2 separate regions of the Homo sapiens genome follow, and region 2 is linked to region 1. Evidence: promoter capture Hi-C in 16 types of primary human blood cells and fetal thymus (Javierre and others, 2016). All regions are on one chromosome and are shown on one strand. Each heading gives the region's core, a stretch centred on a gene start or on the middle of the fragment in contact. The rest is flanking DNA. Distances are from core to core; before and after follow the strand shown. Region 1 holds the start of ATP11A (ATPase phospholipid transporting 11A). Region 2 overlaps SLC9D1 (solute carrier family 9 member D1).

Evidence for each region. The method cuts DNA at HindIII sites, captures the fragments that hold promoters and counts their contacts. A CHiCAGO score of 5 or more calls a contact.
Region 2: a contact is called between a fragment that was not itself captured here and the fragment with the promoter of ATP11A in region 1, in 1 of 17 cell types (monocytes). The highest score is 6.6, in monocytes.

The regions. Positions count from the first base shown.
Region 1 is chr13:112,688,788-112,691,570 of GRCh38, forward strand. ATP11A (ATPase phospholipid transporting 11A) reads left to right here and starts at 1,251. Exons shown (of 30, transcript NM_015205.3): 1 at 1,251-1,668. The coding sequence starts at 1,630. It overlaps LOC102725228 (a long non-coding RNA gene), which reads right to left and starts at 1,028. Exons shown (of 2, transcript NR_187633.1): 1 at 876-1,028; 2 at 1-82. RefSeq lists an enhancer at 88-605 and silencers at 854-1,783, 1,804-2,043. The HindIII fragment of the contact is 3,702 bases long and covers 1-2,783 here.
Region 2 is chr13:113,491,448-113,494,147 of GRCh38, forward strand. The region is part of intron 1 of SLC9D1 (solute carrier family 9 member D1); the gene reads left to right. It also overlaps a transcript of DCUN1D2 not described here. Among named protein-coding and RNA genes, the nearest start is that of SLC9D1, 1.8 kb to the left of the region's middle. The HindIII fragment of the contact is 1,447 bases long and covers 561-2,007 here.

The DNA.
Region 1 (2,783 bases), core at 1-2,500:
CAGCAGGTTGTCCCTGTGGGTGAAGATCCACTGAGGGGGACCGCCAGCTTCCTGAGCACAGGGCAGGCCAGAGCAGGACAGGCTGGGATGGAAAATGAAGAATCAGTGCTTTAGCCGACAACAAATGGGAGCCGTTTACTGTTTAGTCACTATGATTAGTGTTCACTAGTACTCATTTCTCTTCGTCTAAAAAGTGGCCAACACCATCTCTTTTCCACAAGCACTCGGGAGAACATTCATATTCAATTGCCTTCCTAAGACCCAGACGGGGCAGCGCTCTCCACAGGCCACCAAAAGGTGTTGCCTGTTTGGTTTCATCAGTGATTATCTGTGGCAGCAAGACAGGAAGTTGGAAATCAAGTACCTCAATTAAGTCAAGGCTGACCGTGGAATTAGAGAACAAGTGTTTGTTACCCCGGCCAGGTCACCCTAGGGAAAACAGGCATTCTCCGGGATTGAAATGGTGGTGTTTGTGTGGTAAATAGTTCTCAGTCCAGTTCAAAGCCAGCAGCATTAAGGACACGCCACCGCCACCGGGAGCTGGAGACCAGGCGAAGCTGAGCTCCTCTGTGGTTCACCAACCCCTCAGGCCGCCTAAGTGTCTTCTGCTGTCGCAGCTTTGGGGACAGAGGGGTTTCGGAAACAGGGGCCTCTTGTCTGCACCCTCCCCTCCCACTGACAGGCTGGCAGCCCAGGGCAGCCACCTGAGGAGCGTCCCTGTGTCTCTCCATCTGCAGAGCAGGAAAAGCCTGCGGGTCGGTGGCGCCACGCTGGGGCGAGACCCAGCTTCGGCTCAGGAGATCTCCCACCCAGCCGGACTCCCGCTCTCTGCCCGCGGCCCCCTCCCACACTCCCACCTCGCCCCGCGATCTCACTGCCCCATCGAGGCTTCCGGGCGGAGGAGAAAAGTTTTCCGGCAGGAACCCGGGAAGGAAGCCCTGGGACCCTGGCTGAAACTCCGGGTTTCCCCAGTGCCGAGTCCCTTCCCCGCCGCGCCCAGCGCCTGCGCCCCGGGAGGCGGAAGCAACAGGGGGGTTCCTCCCCGCGGCCTCTGACCTCTGCCCTCTGCCCTCTGCCCCCAGGGTCTGGGGCCCGGGCGGAGGCGCGAGGGGGCAGGGCCGGCGCGCGGGTGCGAGCGCGGGTGTGGGCGCGGGGCCGGCGGGGGCTGCGGCCGCGGGGCGCATGCTCACTTGCGCCGGTGACGTGCGCGCCCGGAGCAGGGGCAGGAGCCAGCGGGGCCCGGAGGCTCCAGAGGGCGGCGGGCAGGGGAGGAGGAGACTCGGGAGGAGCAGAGCGCAGGCTCCGCCGCGGCCGGGGTGCTCCAGCCGAGCCCAACCGAGCGGGCGGACCGACGGGGAGAGAGAAGGCGCCAGAGCGCGCGCGCGCGGCCCCGAGCAGCAGCCTTGCCGCCAGTGGAGCAGCTGCCGACGCGCGGGGCCGCGGACCCAGCATTCGCCGGCCGGGCCGGGCATGAGCGCGGAGGGGCCGCGGCCGCCCCCTGCACCGCCCGGCGCGCCGAGGCCGTGACCGGAGCGGGGGGCGCGGCCGCACTAGTACCCCGGAGCCCATGGGCGCGCCGAGCCGGGCGCGGGGGCGCTGAACGGCGGAGCGGGAGCGGCCGGAGGAGCCATGGACTGCAGCCTCGTGCGGACGCTCGTGCACAGATACGTGAGTGCTCCCGGCGCGGGCTGGGGGACCCGGGGACCAGACAGACGCGGGCCGGCCCCGCAGCCCGGACCCTGTGGCCGGTCCAGCCCCGGGGTCCCGGGAGGTCTCCGATGTCTGGGACTCGGACCGCCCCCGGGGACGAGCGGGATGCTGGGGAGGGGCCTCGGAGTTGACACCCTGGGGCTTCCGACGGGGTCTAGGTGGGCACAGCGCGGGGCCCCAGCCCCGGGCGGCCACCTGCTCCCTGGCCGCGGCCGCCTGGCGCCCCCTTCCCGCCCGCAGCGCCCTGGGGGTCCCTCGGAGAGGCTGGCTGGGGTTCGAGCTGTCCCGGCGGACCGGGCGCCCGGAGGGAGCCAACTTCGACCCCGCCGGGGCCCGGGTCTGGGGAGGAACCTTCAGATGCGGCTTCCGCGCAGCCGTGTCTGTAAGATTAAGGGATTGGGAGGAAGCGTTACACTTCTGCAGAAAAAGGTAGCAATTGTGTTTGTTCTTTAACACCCCTGGGGGATTCAGAAGCGGAGTTTGGAATCTTTTTATTTTTTACCTTAAAGTAACCAATTAGATCAGAAGTCCGGGGTCTTCTTGGGTTCCTCTGGAATTTGCCCCTTCAGTGATAAGCAAGTGAAGAGCTCAGGAGGGAAGACTCGGAAGGGGAAAAGTTGATTTTGTTTTACACCAGAGGAGGGGAAACCGGAATCCCTGGCGTTAGGTGTAAAAAGGGGTGTGTGGCCGGGCGCGGTGGCTCACGCCTGTAATCCCAGCACTTTTGGAGGCCGAGGCGGGCGGATCACGAGGTCAGGAGTTTGAGACCAGCCGGACCGACATGGTGAAACCCCGTCTCTGCTAAAAAATACGAAAATTAGCCGGGCGTGGTGGTAGGCGCCTGGGATCCCAGCTACTCAGGAGGCTGAGGCAGGAGAATCGCTTGAACCCGGGAGGCGGTGGTTGCAATGAGCCGAGATCGAGCCACTGCACTCCAACCTGGGTGACAGAGCGAGACTCTGTATCAAAAAAAAAAAAAAAAAAGGGTGTGTGTGTGTGTGTGTGTGTGTAGGAGAGGAAGAAAACTGTCCCAAGCACAGCGTTTCCTGCCACTGTCTTGCACAAGAGGCTTC
Region 2 (2,700 bases), core at 34-2,533, 800 kb after region 1:
GGGGCTCCCATTCCCTTCTTCCCTTCCCAGGGGTCCCCTTCCTTCCTTCCCTCCCTCCCTGGGGCTCCCCTCCTCTCTCTCCCTCCCTGGGGCTCACCTCCCCTCTCTCTCTCCTCGGGGCTCCCCTTTTCTTGCAGGTATTGTCTCCCGGGGTCGGGTGGTCTGTGTGGCCTGGGGTCCCGCTCCTCCAGGCCTTGCCTAGGCGCTCTTCGCTGAGGCCCACGTTCTAACCTGGAATGGAACCTGCGTTCCCACCCTGGCCGCCCGGGTGGACTCGGGGCCTCCAGGGCCGGCCGCAGAGATGCAGCCCTGTCCCTGGCCCCCCTCCTGTGACTCCTAACGGCTCCTCACGGTGTCCATGACCCAGGGTGTGGACGCCTGCGCGGGGGAAGCAAGACCGCTGCGTATCGGGTCCCTATTCACTGCCTGTTTTTCTGATTATTCTGTCTTCCAAATTTATCTTATTTACCGGCTTTTTCAAAAGGAGTGTCTTAATGATTGGATTACTTGTGAAATATTTGTAGTTTTTTTCTCCTACAGGCTTGACTTAAATATTCTAAAGCTTTTTTGTGGTTGTTGAGACAGAGTTTTGCTGTCGCCCAGGCTGGAGTGCAGTGGCTGGTCAAGGCTCAAGCGATTCTCCCGCCTCAGCCTCCCCAGGAGCTGGGGCCACAGGGAGCATCACGCCCGGCTAATTATTTCATTTTTAATAGAGACAGGGTCTTGCTGTGTTGCCCAGGATGATCTCCAACTCCTGACCTCAAGCAGTTCGCCCACCTCAGCCTCCCAGAGCGCTGGGAATACAGATAATTGTGTCGTAATACAGCAGTGGCATTAACCACCGCACCTGGTCTTAGGTAGAATTTGAAAACCTTTTTATTTTGAGATGGTTGTAGATCACATGAAGTTGTAAGGAGTAATACAGAGAAATCCTACAGAGTGCCTTTGCCCTGTTTTCTCCAATGGTAGCACCTTGCAAAACCATAGTATATGTGGGGAATTTTCTTTGATCAAATCCCCTGACCTGTTGAGATTGCACCAACTATACATGCACTAGTGAGTGTGAATCTACACCTGTGTGTCTTCTCAATAAAATTGAGATTTTTTTTCACTCAGCCTTGAGATACATCCGCATTGTTATGTGTATCAATTGCTCAAGATGCAGAAATTCTAAGAATTCATTATTTAAAAAGTAATCCCAGCACTTTGGGAGGCTGAGGTGGGTGGATCACCTGAGGTCAGGAGTTTGAGACCAGCCTGGCCAACATGGCAAAACACCGTCTCTACTAAAAATACAAAAATTAGCTGGGTGTGGTGGCGAGCGCCTGTAATTCCAGCTACTTGGGAGGCTGAGGCAGGAGAATTGCTTGAACCCGGGAGGCAAAGGTTGCAGTGAGCTGAGATCACAACACTGCACTCCAGCCTGGGTGACAAGAGCAAAACTCCGTCTCAAACAGCAACAACAACAAAAAAAACACATTACAGGAATCCAAAGTGTCTTTTTAATAACTAGAACAGCTAAAGATGTTTACTAATTTGCTCAAAAAACATGCTACAATTTAGTAGTCAGTAGGATTTTGGAGGCAAGTTTGAAGATAAAATGAAATGAGTTTGAATAAAGGTGATTTGTATTTTAAGGGTCCATAAATAATTTCAGTTTCATGTTATGAGTATGTTTCAGTGGGAAATTTTAGTATAACTACAACTAAAATCCTCAAAGGTTTCTCATAAAAATTATAGCTCCCTTAGAGGGACAACTAATTTTAGGAACCTGATTGAGGAAGGAACCAGAAATGAACATAGAGGTGTCATTCACACATGAGCTGTGTTGAAACTTATTTTTCTGAAGCATAAAATCCATCAAAGAATCACTTTTTGGGATCTTTTGGGGAAACTGGGAAGTGTAAGCAAAGCATCTCAGATTTCTGTCTTGGTTCTGGAAAATACTAAAAGTTCACTTGTGAAGTAGCTGTTGATTTATTTAGCTCCGTTGGACCAACCGAGAGAAGCTTAGCAGTTGAGTGAGTCATTAAAATAACAGCTCAGCTATATGGCTAGGCATGACTAAGTGATTGCCTCATTGTTTGTTTTTAAGGTGGTAAATGTGTACTTAAAGTTGTACACGTGTACTTAAAGTTGTATTGAAACTAACATAAAATTGAGTGATTGGAACAGCACATTATCATTTATCCTATCTTGTTAGGAAGTTACCTGTTCTAGGTAAGTGAATTCTCTGTGGAGTGTGCTTCTCCTTTTGGGAGTCAGTCTCCAAGAATGTTTTGAATTGAACACTTTCTAACCAGAATATAGTCTTTTCTTGGTGACTTTTGCTTGTAATTCTGATCAGTACTGTTGTCTAACACAGTACTGTCTTCAGGACCTGCTGGGGTGCAGACAGTCGCTGAGCCTTCACCGAGTCATCTGGCCTCCAGGCTTTTTTAGTTCTCCTGTTTGTTTTGCATAAGGTTTGTCTCTTTCTGTGGCTGCCATTTCATGGTTTGGGCAGAATGCTGCCTCCAGAAATGCTGCCCTTACTTTTGCTGCATCTAACCTACTTTGCCTGGGAAACTCGATTAAACCAATTAGAATTTGGGTTAGCAGTGAAATGAAAGTATAGATATATAGATACATCTTTTAGTAACCAGGTTTCCAGGTCGGGGAATCTTTGTAATATGTGATGGTTGAGTAGGAATTCCTGAG